Linked DNA regions of Homo sapiens: regions 1, 2, 3 and 5 are each linked to region 4. The links are contacts of gene promoters, found by promoter capture Hi-C in blood cells and fetal thymus (Javierre and others, 2016). All regions are on one chromosome and are shown on one strand. Each heading gives the region's core, a stretch centred on a gene start or on the middle of the fragment in contact. The rest is flanking DNA. Distances are from core to core; before and after follow the strand shown. Region 1 overlaps SCRN3 (secernin 3). Region 2 overlaps GPR155 (G protein-coupled receptor 155). Region 3 overlaps GPR155-DT (GPR155 divergent transcript). Region 4 holds the start of CHN1 (chimerin 1). Region 5 overlaps GPR155 (G protein-coupled receptor 155).

Evidence for each region. Contacts are between HindIII fragments. The CHiCAGO score rates a contact against its expected background, and 5 or more counts as called.
Region 1: a fragment that was not itself captured here is called in contact with the fragment with the promoter of CHN1 in region 4 in 1 of 17 cell types (total CD4 T cells); the score reaches 5.7 in total CD4 T cells.
Region 2: a contact is called between a fragment that was not itself captured here and the fragment with the promoter of CHN1 in region 4, in 2 of 17 cell types (total CD4 T cells and naive CD8 T cells). The highest score is 5.9, in total CD4 T cells.
Region 3: a fragment that was not itself captured here is called in contact with the fragment with the promoter of CHN1 in region 4 in 1 of 17 cell types (naive CD4 T cells); the score reaches 5.4 in naive CD4 T cells.
Region 5: a fragment that was not itself captured here is called in contact with the fragment with the promoter of CHN1 in region 4 in 1 of 17 cell types (activated CD4 T cells); the score reaches 7.3 in activated CD4 T cells.

The regions. Positions count from the first base shown.
Region 1 is chr2:174,413,956-174,416,655 of GRCh38, forward strand. The region is part of intron 5 of SCRN3 (secernin 3); the gene reads left to right. Among named protein-coding and RNA genes, the nearest start is that of SCRN3, 20 kb to the left of the region's middle. The HindIII fragment of the contact is 410 bases long and covers 1,175-1,584 here.
Region 2 is chr2:174,452,432-174,455,131 of GRCh38, forward strand. GPR155 (G protein-coupled receptor 155) reads right to left here. Exons shown (of 16, transcript NM_152529.7): 11 at 1,306-1,410. Among named protein-coding and RNA genes, the nearest start is that of GPR155, 33 kb to the right of the region's middle. The HindIII fragment of the contact is 1,389 bases long and covers 674-2,062 here.
Region 3 is chr2:174,490,836-174,493,535 of GRCh38, forward strand. It overlaps GPR155-DT (GPR155 divergent transcript), which reads left to right. Exons shown (of 3, transcript NR_183819.1): 3 at 1-1,967. Among named protein-coding and RNA genes, the nearest start is that of GPR155-DT, 4.8 kb to the left of the region's middle. The HindIII fragment of the contact is 4,676 bases long and covers 1-2,700 here.
Region 4 is chr2:175,003,989-175,006,688 of GRCh38, forward strand. CHN1 (chimerin 1) reads right to left here and starts at 1,393. Exons shown (of 13, transcript NM_001822.7): 1 at 906-1,393. The coding sequence starts at 924. RefSeq lists an enhancer at 563-1,109 and a silencer at 1,094-1,153. The HindIII fragment of the contact is 4,598 bases long and covers 1-2,700 here.
Region 5 is chr2:174,472,631-174,475,330 of GRCh38, forward strand. It overlaps GPR155 (G protein-coupled receptor 155), which reads right to left. Exons shown (of 16, transcript NM_152529.7): 3 at 335-734. Among named protein-coding and RNA genes, the nearest start is that of GPR155, 13 kb to the right of the region's middle. The HindIII fragment of the contact is 1,145 bases long and covers 727-1,871 here.

The DNA.
Region 1 (2,700 bases), core at 130-2,629, 590 kb before region 4:
TCTATTGCTGTCTGCATAGAATGACACAGCATTGACCATGGGCTTCCCTCAAGCTAAAGCCATAACAAAAATAAACTTACCCTATGCTTCATTCTGTCTCCCAACTTTCACCTTTCCTCCAGAATGTTACTTCATTTGTTAATTGTAAAGAGCCTTCAGGTAGTTGTTTTTCTGTATTTTGTCCCAAGTTGATAGTTATCTGCGGGAGGATTGGCCTGATAGGAGCTCACTTAGCCACATTGAAAGTAGAACTCCTTCCCATGCCATTTAATATTCTATGATATTATTTTACTTATAAAAATTAATATATTCACATGATTCAAAATTCTAAAGTACACAAGATTATACAATGAAGTCTCTCTTTCCTACCCTGTCCTGAGATACTTAGTTTTTTTTCCCATATGCAGTTCCTTATGTGTTCTTCCAGAGATGATATATGCTTAATGAAACAAATATGTAATTTTTCTTTTTTTACAGAAATGATAGCATGCTATTTACACTTTTCTCCACATAACTTTAGTTAGCAATATACGATGTAGATCAGTTAGCAATATATGATGTAGATCATTCTGTTTCAATATATACAGAACATTCTCATTTTTTAAAACAGATATGTAGTATCCTATTATTTTGTTATTCCCTTATGGTAGTATTTTAATCATTGTATAATAAAGATTGATTGTATGAATCATACTTTAGCTATCAAATCCCTGTTATTTGGGTTATTTTTAGTTTTTCATTATTGAAATTATATAACATGCTTATAGCTTATTTATATTCATATCCATGACTATTTTCTTTTCTATTTTCTTTTTTTTTTTTTTTTGAGACAGAGTCTTGCTGTGTCCCCCAGGCTGGAATGCAGTGGCACCATCTCAGCTCACTGCAACCTCTGCCTCCTGGATTCCAGCGATTCTCCTGCCTCAGCCTCCCAAGTAGCTGGGATTACAGGTGCCTGCCACCACGCCTGGCTAATTTTTTTATTTTTTGTAGAGATGGGTTTCACCGTGTTGGCCAGGCTGGTCTCTAACTTAACTGACCTCAAATGAGCCGCCCACCTTGGCCTCCCAAAGTGCTGGGATTATAGGCGTGAGCCACTGCACCCAGCCAAGCCACCGCACCCAGCCCCATGACTATTTTCTAAAAATGAGTTTGTAGTAGAATGTCAGGTCAAAGCTTATGTACATTTGAAGGTTTTTGAAACACATTGTTAAATGACCACCAGAAAAGTTACATAAATTTAAATTACTGCCAATAATATTTGAGTACCCATTTTCTAACATGCTTATCAATAGAGGATTTTTTTTCAACCTTTATAAATTTTGTAGGCAAAATGGCATGTAAATATATACACCTACTATGTACCCACAAAGAGAAATAAGAAAAAAAATGGCATGTTACAATTTTAATATTTTTTTTAGTGAAATTAGATATATTCTTACATTTACTGAAAATTTGTAATTGCTTTGTGAGTTGTTTATTAATGTATCCTTTTCCCATTTTCATGTTGGGTTATTACTAACTCTTAAAAAATAACTTCCAATGTATTTTCTCCTTTTGCTTCCAAATAATTCCAGCAAAGTAAGCTTTATTTAGATTACTGAGTGGCAGATAATTGCTAAAAGGGTCATGCTACTAATAAAAATGTGATTAATATACCCTCCTTCACTTGAAGGATAAAATGTTTGTATTAAAAAAATTTTTTTTGAGACAATGTCTCGATCCAATACTCAGGCTGGAGTGCAGTGGCGTAATCTCAGCTCACTGCAACCTCTGCCTCCTGGGTTCAAGCTATTCTCGTGCCTCAACCTCCCAAATAGCTGGGATTCCAGGTGTGCACTACCATGCTAGGCTAATTTTTGTATTTTTTGTAGAGCTAGGGTTTCACCATGTTGTTCAGGGTGGTGTCGAATTCCTGGGCTCAAACCATCTGCCCACCTTGGCCTATCAAAGTGCTGAGATTACAGGTGCGAGCCATTGTGCCTGGCTGGTAAATGGTTCTATAAAGCGGTCAGAAAGCAACTACTCTGAGATGGATCAGTGATTGATATTTGCTTCTCATGTATTCATTAAACAAATTATATGGTAGTTATTATGAGGGTGTGGCCAAAACATTAAGGAATTGATTACAACAGTACAGGATGGCTTGGTCTGGGGTCCAGGGCCACCAAGCAAGGTTATGGAGATCATGCCCTGCACAAGGGGGTAAGTAGGGCTGAAATCCAGCCCCACTATCTGCCCCAAAGAAGAGGCTCCTTTCTCTAATTTTCTTAAAGGTTAGCTAGCCCAGAAATAGCAGTGGTGGCATGGAGTTGGAGCAAAGTGGACAGATTTGGCATATACTTTGGTGGCAGAATGGACAGGACTTAATTAATTAGAGTGAAGGTTAGAGAGAGAAAGATGTCATAAATGAATACCAGGTTTCTGCTGGGAACCAGTGAACAGTTGGAAATGCCATTTGTAGAGATAGGATAGATGGAAGATTTGAGGGTAAAGAGTGTAGTTTTCCATTTTAGAAGAATCAACTACTCTGAGATAATAACCTAACCATCCCAGAGGGATGATTTGCATCTTCCTTTGTCTGAGAGGACAACTCATCCTCTTCCCTTCCTGGGTTTAGAACTTCACCCAAAAGGTGTTGGTGATTGAGGGTGGAGCATAGGGTAGGAGTAGTCTTAGGAGGTGGGCACTCCTATCTAC
Region 2 (2,700 bases), core at 118-2,617, 550 kb before region 4:
TTTCTTATATAAAAACATAATGCCTTTAGCAATAATACAGTTGACATAGGCCTTATCAAAAAGAGCATTTTTGGGGGTTTCCCTTTTTAGTTTGATTATAAATAAGTATAATCAACGAAAAATGCACTGCAATTCCACATAAGTATGTTCGGTTGTTTTGAATAATTTGAAATTTAGGCCACAAATGTAATTCAGCCTCTTAGTCAAAAGGTTATTACTTTTTTTTTCCCCCTAGATGGAGTCTTGCTCTGTCACCTAGGTTGCAGTGCAGTGGCGTGATCTTGGCTCACTGCAACCTCCGCCTCCTGTGTTCAAGCAATTCTCCTGCCTCAGCCTCCCAAGTAGCTGGGATTACAGTTGGGTGGGATTACCACCACACCCAACTAATTTTTGTATTTTCAGTAGAGACGGGGTTTCACCATGTTGGCCAGGCTGGTCTCGAACTCCTGACCTTGTGATCCACCCGCCTCGGCCTCCCAAAGTGCTGGGATTACAGGCGTGAGCCACCTTGTCTGGCCAAGAGGTTATTACTTTTAAAGGTGTTTGTTCCTTATTTTATAAGAATGGCCATATTTAAAGCATAAAGATTCAAAATATAATTAAGAACTAATTAATTAGTCCTGGTCCTAGGGGATGAGAATGGGGGAAAAGTCTGTTTCTAAAACAAGAAAAAAGCTTCCCTCTCTCCACCTCCCACCAAAATGCCCTTTAGGGCAAACTTCCTGGATTTGTCACTTGGGTTAAATTTATTGGAAAATGTGTGTATGACACTACCTATTATCACTTTGTGAGAACTTTATTTTTTAAAGTGAGTATTCTGTCTATGCACAATTATTCCCTATTAGCACTTCTTTGCTCTTAATTGAGGATCTATATTCTTGATGTTTGTAACTTCTATAGATATTCTATGTAGAGTTCTTTTGAGGGATAAGAATAAGGAATCTTCTGGCCGGGTGTGGTAGCTCACGCCTGTAATCCCAGCACTTTGGGAGGCCGAGGCAGGCAGATCACGAGGTCAGGAGATCGAGACCATCCTGGCTAACACAGTGAAACTCCGTCTCTACTAAAAATACAAAAAATTAGCTGGGCATGGTGGTGGGCGCCTGTAGTCCCAGCTACTCAGGAGGCTGAGGCAGGAGAATGGCGTGAACCTGGGAGGCACAGCTTGCAGTGAGCCAAGATAGCGCCACTGCACTCCAGCCTGGGTGACAGAGCAAGACTCCGTCTCAAAAAAAAGAAAAAAAAAAAAAAGAATAAGGAATCTTCTGTCCCTTAATCCCATCCTCATAGTCCAGAGGCACTTACTTTTCTCAAACGAAGGAATCACAGGCTCACTGGTGCTTGTGTTTGCTATTGGCTCTATTGATGGGCAGTGTAATTCACCATTTCCCATGGAGCAGGAGCAGCAACCTATATCAATCAAATAGTATGTGAGAGTAGAGCCCAACCACAACAGAAATGGACAATTTTAAGAAATGCCAAAGAAAACAAAACAAAATCCACTCACACACACTTCCCATGTAGCCTCAATAGTTTTCACATGGTATCTATCCAAAAGTATTCAAATGTTCTCACTCATATACAAAATAAAAAAAACTTAATCTCATAGAAGCACTGAATGTGGCCAGGCATGGTAGCTTACACCTGTTGCTTCAGGAGGCTGAGGTGGCAGGATCACTTAAGGCTAGGATTTTGTTTTGTTTTGTTCTGTTTTTTTGTTTTTTGAGGTGGAGTCTCACTCTGTTGCCCAGGCTGGAGTGCAGTGGCGCAATCTCGGCTCACTGCAACCTCCGCCTCCTGGGTTCAAGCGATTGTCCCGCCTCAGCTTCCGAGTAGCTGGGATTACAGGCACCTGCCACCAGGCCCAGCTAATTTTTGAATTTTTAGTAGAGACAGGGTTTCACCATGCTGGCCAGGCTGGTCTAGAACTCCCGACCTCAGGCGATCTGCCCGCCTCGGCCTCCCAAAGTGCTGGGATTACAAGTGTGAGCCACCATGCCCAGCCGAGGCTAGGAACCTAAGATCAGCCTGGGTAATACAGCAAGACTCTGTCTTTACAAAAAGCTTTTTAAAAAATAGCTGGGCATGCTGGCATATGGCTATAGTACAGCTTCTTGGGAGGATGAGGTGGGAGGACTGCTTGAGTCCAGGAGTTTGAGATTACAGGGAGCAGTCACGCTCCAGCCTGGGGAAAGAAGGAAGGAAGGAAGGAAGGAGGGAGGGAAGAAGGGAAGGAGGGAAGGAGGGAGGGAGGGAAGGAAGGGAAAGGAAGGAAAGGAAAGGAAGGGAAGAAAGGGAAGGGAAGGAAGGAAAAGGAAGGAAGGGAGAGGAAGGAAGGGAAAGGAAGGAAAGGGAAGGAAAGGGAAGGAAGGGAAGGGAAGGAAGGGAAAGGAAGGAAAAGAAAGGAAGGAAAAGGAAGGAAGGGAAGGAAGGGAAAGGAAGGAAGAGAAGGAAGGGAAAGGAAGGAAGGATGAGTAGTGGGTACCGGATACTTGGGCAGGTAGGGGGTGGCAGGGATGGGGTCAACAGGTACAAAGTTACATTAGAATAAGTTCTAGTGCCCTATCATACAGTATGGTGGCTATAGTCAACAAAGATACTGTACATCTCAAAATAGAAGAGAGGATTTTGTATGTTCCTACAACAAAGAAATTATACATTTTGAAGTGATAGATATGCTAATTACCCTGATTTGATCAT
Region 3 (2,700 bases), core at 127-2,626, 510 kb before region 4:
TGTTTCTTTCTATGAAAGTAATAACAATGATAACATATTCAGATAATACAGAAAGGAATGAAGAAAGTGAAAATCATACCTATGGATAACTTCTTTAATATTATACCATATATGTATCATTTTATGCAAATATAGATTATTTAAGAAAAATAGGATTATACATATGATTTTCATACACATGATTTTAGTCACTTCTCATTTAGTAATACCTTTTTAATCCATAAACAATTTATTCATATAGATAGATTTATATCATTTTTAATGCCTATTAAATACTCCCTAGCGAAATTTTGAGGATGATCTTCTTCGAAAAAGTGGAAACTGGGCCATCTATAAAGTCTAATCAAAGTTGAGTAAAGCATAGAAAAATAAAAGAGAGTGACTTAAAATGTGCTGTTTGAACATGTCTAGTACGATGCCAGATTTTGTTTAAAAACTTTTAGTTTCTTTAAAACTCCCCTTCCCCTTCCCAATAGCATCATTTTCTCTTTAGGGATTCATGTTTCCAGAGAAGTTGACTTCACTCTCCCTTCAGAGATGATGTAACTAATGTAGGCTGTCCAATCAGTGTATTTCATCCCTTTGCACTTAATGATTAGTCAGGGTAGGCACTGATCCTGAAGTAGCTCAGCTGAATAATTTTCAGGACTTTTGCAGAGAATGCTGATCTTCTCTTTCTTGCTAGACAAGAGGAAGATGCCGACAGCCATTTTAGAACCATAAGAGAAGCCAGTCTTAGAATGGTGCAGAGACCAAGGTAGCCACAGCAGAGAGAAGGAAATAAACAGGGACCTTGATGACATATTGAGTTGTGGGGTCAAGCCCCACCTAAAGCAGCCTCACCGGTTGGCCTGTGGACTCTTCATTGATGTGTACCAATCAGTTTTCTTCATTGTTTAAACAAGTTTGAGTTGGGTTTTCTATTACTTAAAATCAAATGCATAGGAAAAATGCTAAAGGAAAATGCAACAGTAATTATCTCTGAGTGGTAAGAATACACATGATTTAAATTTTTTTTTTCTGTGCAGAAAAGTTTCCCTTTTTCTTGATAAAATTAATATACAAAGTATGTATTTTGGCTATATGAAAATCTTCTAAAACAAATTTTAAAACGATGATCGTTTATTAAACCAGGAATATATATGAAATCCACCCATAAAATAGAATGATTTAAGAGCATGGATATGATGCAGCCTATGACCTTAGAGAAGACAAAGGCCTTGCTTTTGTTGATCTTTGTATTCTCAGCATTTAGAATAGTGCTTTCCCTGACATATGGCAGGCATTCTGTAAATGGTTTTTGAATGATTTAATAAAACATAATTGCCTATCAGCTATCTAGGAAGTTGGATTGTAACTATGGGAAGTATTTGATACAAGCAACTGTGACATAGATCTTTTACAGTAACTGGATTTCTTGTTTCCAGCTTTTCACTTGGCCAAGTTTTATAGCTTTATTTAAATATTCCCCCTGGCTAGACACAGTGGCTCACACCTATAATCCCAGCACTTTGGAAGGCTGAGGTGGACAGATCATGTGAAGCCAGGCTGGCCAACAGGGTGAAACCCTGTCTCCACTAAAAATGCAAAAATTAGCTGGGTGTGATGGCGCGTGCCTGTAATCCCAGCTACTTGAGAGGCTGAGGCAGGCGAATTGCTTGAACCGGGGAGGCGAAGGTTGCAGTGAGCCAAGATCACGCCACTGCACTCCAGTCTGGGCGACAGAGCAAGACTTCATCTCAAATAAATAAATAAATAAATATTCCGCCAAATTGTTGACTCCTTTTTGTGATTGTAAATGCTAGAATTAAATAATTATTTCTGATCTGTCAAGTTAAAACCCTGAGTATTATCTTTTAATATACATATATATGTTTATGTGTGCATAAATATACGATAGCTTTTTTTTTCTTTCGATCTGCTACTGAAATATTCTCACAAAAGCAATAAAGTGGAACCTAAACATCTCACGTGGCTATTGATCTTGTTATTGACCCCAAGAAAGGCTCAAATGTGATTAAATGGGCAGAGGCTTTTGTCTAGGCCAGCACTTAAGAAGTTAAGCAGAGGCCGGGCGCGGTGGCTCACGCCTGTAATCCCAGCACTTTGGGAGGCCAAGGCAGACGGATCACTGAGGTCAGGAGTTCAAGACCAGCCTGGCCAACATGGTAAAACCCTGTCTCTACTAAAAATACAAAAATTAGCCAGGTGCAGTGGAACGCGCCTATAATCCCAGGTACTGGGGAGGCTGAGGCAGGAGAACTGCTTCAACTTGGGACACGGAGGTTGTGGTGAGCCCAGATCATGCCACTGCACTCCAGCTCGGGGGCCACAGAGCAAGACTCTGTCTAAAAAAAAAAAATGTTAAGCAGAAAAACAATGAAACCAGAACTAGCTTATGAAACTGAAAGTTAAATCGATGACTTACGTAAGATAGGCTGCAGAAATCATACAATAGAAGCATGGTAACTTTGGGGGCCGCACCAGTCTGTTTCAAGACTTAGCTTCTTGATACTTGTGGTTTTGTTTTGACCACTTTTTTTTTGAAAGGAGTTAGAGATCAGGAACATGAAGATGAAAAACAAAAAAATACACTTGTTCCTACTTCTGAATTGTTCATTTAAAAGTGGGCTCACTAACAAATTTATTTAATAGGCAGCCTTTAAAGAAATAATATTTTAACTGTGCAGAGCACTTTCT
Region 4 (2,700 bases), core at 143-2,642:
AACTTGATATTGTGAATAACTTACTTAGGCTGTTCTCGTAGCTATCAATTACATATCATTGTACTTTGCTTCTTCAAAAAAGCTGAATACTTTGAACGTCTAATGTTCACATATTGAGTTTTCTTAAAGTCAGGTACGTATGTACCATAGTCGTTTTGTAAAAGGAAAGAATGTATCTTTTCAGTCCTTTTTCCCAACCCATTGTCATTGCAGACTGAGAAAAAAACAGCTTGAAGTCTTAACCACCAAAAGCAACAGTGCTGCAGTAATTACACCACAAAAATAACATTTCATTCTTAATGAATACTCAGTCTCCTGAGATTACAGTTATCTTCTGGTAACCAACTTTATTCTGTCTGCTCTCATTCGTTAGTGCAAACATTTTCAATTTTAACCCATATTCAGTTCACAAATCATACTTATTTCCAACGGAATATACTGAGTCCAAAAAAAAAATTCCCCAATAGTCCAACAGGAAGCAACACATGCATTTGGCAATTCCAAGGAGGCTGGGGACTCACAGATACCTCGTTCAAAATAAATAAACTTTCCAAGGATTTATTTACCGACGGGAAAGGCAGGTTTGAAAACAACCAGTTAACTTCACTCCCAAGTTGGCATCTTAGAGAATCTTTGTGCGTTTGCAAAACACCCAGGACCTCTGAGCCTCCCAGCCGAGAATTGGCCAGGGGAGCACACGCCCATCGGCCCTGCCGGGAGAGGAAACAATGGGAGAGGCGCGAGGGAGCAAGCCGGCGCCCCGGGCGCCCCAACTCTGCGGCCCCGGCCCGCCCCGACCCCACGCGCCGCGCCCCCTCCCCGGGCGCCCAGGCCCCCCAGGCCCCCGCCCCCGAGCCCCGGGACGCGGCCCACCTGCGGCGGCGCGGGGAGACGGCTGCACTTACCAAACAGGGTCAGGGCCATTGTAAAGGCGCTCGCCGCCGCCCGCGAGTCCAGGCGCTCCTCCCAGGCGGGCTAGGGATCACCTCATCAGCCCGCCGCACCCACACCTCGGAGAGAGTGGGGTGCCCGATGGGGCGTGCTGGGGGCGCCGGCGCCCGGGGAGGCTGCAGGCCGGGACGCGGGGGACCGCTGCAAGAAAAAGTTATTCACGCGTTATTGTCGGGCGCACCGGGCCCAGGGAGCCCCGCTAGCTCTCCGCGAGCCGGCACTTGTCGCTGCCATCAGGCGCGGAGCGTGCGCGCGGGAGGAGGTACCTGCGAGGCAGGAGGCTTGGCCGCGGCGCAGTGGCTGGCGGAGAGGCGGCGCCGCACTGGCGGCGGCGGCGGCGGCGACGGGGAGAGCAGCAGCAGCCTCGCACAGCCCCCGGCGGGGCGCGCTCACTCCGCATCCCGCGGCCTCGCAGACGCCATCTTGCGATAGCGTCTCCCACGAGCTCGGCCGCGCCGCTGCCTCCCGCCTCTCCCTCGGGCTTCCCGGTCGAGTGCGTTCCCATGGCAACGGGCGCGCGCGGGGGTAAGAGGGTGCGCCCTCATTCCCGCGGCTGCGAGGAGCCACCAGCGCCCCCCTGGAGGCGGCCGCCCGGAGCGGGATGGAGCGGGGCCGGTGTGCGTTTTAGCTGAAAGCCCAGGTTTTTTCTTGAATGGAATTTGAGGAGGCGCAGAGAGGAGAAAAACGCTGTTACTCGAAAGAGGAAGAGTCACAGGAGGATGCTGAGTGAACGCAGCGCCCAGGCAGGGTCATCTGGGGACCTGGTGCGTGTGAGAACATATTTCTTCTCCTGGCGCCCTCCAGGCTCACTGTGGCTGGAGCCGGTGACCTGAAGCTGCAGGGCTCTGGTAGGAACAGAGGCACTGAAAGCTGCATTCCTCTCCGTTTGGACTTAGGAGCTGCTAGTAGTTCTGATGAAATTGACACACATTAGGAAAAGGAGTCGCTTAAAAAGCATCTGAGATTACCTAAGATAATTTGTTAAAAGACCAATGCTTACACCTGATTTTCTTCCCTTTACATTATACCTCTTTGATATTGTCTCAAGGAAAAAAAAATCAGCATGTGTCACTGACTGGCACTTATTTGCCACAAAAGATTGTTCCCCTGAGCTTCTTGTATTTATCTGATAATCACTGGCAACGTCCTCCTTTCTGTGATGTTGTCTCCTCACCTCTGTCTCTGCCATGAGGAGCCATACAACGCCTTGAGATTGTCAGCCAAAAGATGTTCTTGAAAAGCTGGGTTATATGTTTTTCGTCGTTGTCGTTTAATGTATTCAAAAAGTCATTCTTCTCTAGTTGCTATATGTGTTCCCTGTTTAAGAAATTCCTTCTTTTTTCTTGTTTCTCTGCTTAGGGATTTGATACTATTTTGGTATCTGATCATGTAGATCTTCTCTTTGGTTCTCCTTTCTTTCTACAGGCGTCTTTCCTCTTAGTTCCTCAGGTTCCCTAGTGTCTTCTCTCCCATTTTCAAATAATTCTTTAAGAATATTATAGAAATATCTTGTATTTAATGTATCTTAGAGATCGAATCCTGATAAAGTGGGAGATTACTACAGTACTTCCAATGGAACCACAGTTAATTCACCATCATTATTTCAAAGCAGACTTAAGCATCAGAAGAAAAGCAGGTTGGAAGGAGGAGCCAAGCCTTTTGTTTCAAGTCAGTTAACTCAGGAAGAAAGAAATATTAAAATGATTCAACATGAATGGGCAAGTGTTTAAGATGCTATATGTTTGGAAT
Region 5 (2,700 bases), core at 49-2,548, 530 kb before region 4:
TTTATGGATTTGGAAAAGTCAGAAATGCTGCAAAATTTATTTGAAAATACTGTCAAACTGGGACATGAGGAGATACTGAGTAAACTTTATGTAAAAGCTGAAGGGAAACCCATCATCTTTATCCTCTGACAGTAAGATGGAAAGAATAAGCTACTGGGAATAAGGAAATGACTTTCCACAATACACCATCACATTTTCCTTTATCTCACAACTATTCTACAAGGAGGGGTTATTAATATTCAAAGGGGAAAATGGTTGCAGACATACCCCTGATGAATTGGCTAAATACGGCTTTCAAAAAGTACAATTCTCAAGTTAAATAAGTGATGCTTACAGTTTAGCTGTGATGAGAAGAATTAGTACTACAAATGCCGACTTCTTCAGTCTCTTTATTTTTCCCACCATCGTGAGACCAAGATAAAATAGGGCTGATCCAGAAAAAGAATTTCCAAGTCCATCAAGAAAATTTTCGACATATACAGGTACCTTTCGATCAAGAATAAAATTGAAGGCGATGCCAATGAAGACCATAAATACTATTGGGTTCTGTAATACACGCAGGAGTCCGAGTCCCACAATTTTTATTTTATTTTGAGAAGCATTTTGAGTGTCTTTCCACTTTTGGATTTCACAGAAAATAAACCCTATAGGGTTTAACATCATAAGAGATATTGGTGCCACCAAATAAATGTACTGGAGATATTCTGGGTATGTAGTTTGATATAAAGCTTCAACTGCAAAACAAGAATATTGATTTTTAAATGATGACCACAGAAATACAGATATATGTTATGTATATAACATTTTCTGTACTTTATAGCAATGATAAATCTAAAATTTTCAAAATGACCCAAATAGCCTATTTTGGAAAAGTACATTTTAGTAATAAAGCTGAAAAAAGAAAAACATAATAAATATCATATAGCTTATAAAATGATAACCAAGTTTACACATTATTTTTAAACCTCACTAATTTTTACCATCTAAGGGTTAAAATTAGTCTCCAAAAATGAGCAGAATTGTAGAATTTTTAGAAGAAACAATTCAAAGTAAAAATCTAGGGACAAACTAAACATTTAAGTAGTAATAGCAAAAATGTGTTTATTGGTATCCATGGAAAGAACAGTTTTACTGGAGTGGTAAGAGACAGAAGTCAGATCACAGAGGGTTGAGGAGAGAGTAGGAGTTATTTCAGGAACTAAAAAGGAGCACGGATGTGGAATCCAAGCTGTGTAAGAAAAGAAATGAAGATGGGAGATGTTTGGAGGCCTCTAGGAATTAGGGACAGTTGGAAGTGCGGGAGTTCAGAGTAAAACAGCTAATGAGCTACTCAGTTAAATATTTTCCAGATGACAAGGTCCAGGATGTGGCTATGGGACTTAGTGGCTGAAATGGAGTAAAGGAAAACATCACTGGAGAAGAGGAGGTCAAGGAAATGACAGGGCAGAGAATTTCATGGTAGTTCACAAGACAATGACAAAACTTGGGATAAAGGTAAATGAGAGGGAATGCCTAGAATGAGGTCAGCAGGTAACAGCAGAGAGGATCAGTGGTCTAGCCGGAAAGTATGAACCTCAAAGCAGTTTTTAACAGCAGAGCAGAGGGATGGTCTAGCAATGGTCCACAGTAGCTGTGGGGATGCCAGTCCTACCTTCCACTGCTCATGTGGTGTGCTGGCAATGGGAAAATGAACAACCTCCATTTGAGAGGAATGAAAAGGAATGAATGCCTTCAAAGAAGACCAGTGGAGATACTTAAGGAGTAGAGATAGAAAGGTGGATCTTACAATGTTTGGGAGGGAAATACAGTAGAGTCACATCAATGCACATTTAGTTAACACAAATTCAACCATACCCTCTTGGGAAAACAAAAGCTTCATTTCCCCCCACCCCCCATAGCATGTTTCCAAGTGCAAACAAATTATTTCAACTGCTGTTCATTGAAGAACAATGCTAGCTAAAAAAATCTGGCTGTGTTAGACTTATGAAAAATGGTACAATATAGACAAAGTATGTGTGCTGTATTTGGTGGGCATTTTCAAGAGTTTGAATATACAAGATGACTTTAGGACTTAACCACTGCATAAGATGTGTTTTTTTAATCTCATGAGGGAGGTGAGTGAGTGGGATCAGACTTCTAGCAGTTTCCTGGTAGACGTGAGGGTTGGTGACCTAGTCTTTAGTTTATTAGAGCAACTTAGGGCCTTTCAGTAAACAACTGGTCTCTAGCACATTTTTGACAATGGGTCCCGAAATTATACAATCTAATGCAAATAAAGGCTGATTTATAATTGATTTGAAGTTGAGAAAGATAAAAAAGAACAGCCACAGTCGTTCACAAGGAGAGAGGCAAACGTGAAAACATGTAAAAGATTAGGTTTCTCGGCCGGGCGCGGTGGCTCACGCCTGTAATCCCAGCACTTTGGGAGGCCGAGGCGGGCGGATCACGAGGTCAGGAGATCGAGACCATCCCGGCTAAAATGGTGAAACCCCGTCTCTACTAAAAATACAAAAAATTAGCCGGGCGTAGTGGCGGGCGCCTGTAGTCCCAGCTACTTGGGAGGCTGAGGCGGGAGAATGGCGTGAACCCGGGAGGCGGAGCTTGCAGTGAGCCGAGATCCCGCCACTGCACTCCAGCCTGGGCGACAGAGCGAGACTCCGTCTCAAAAAAAAAAAAAAAAAAAAAAAAAAAAAAAATTAG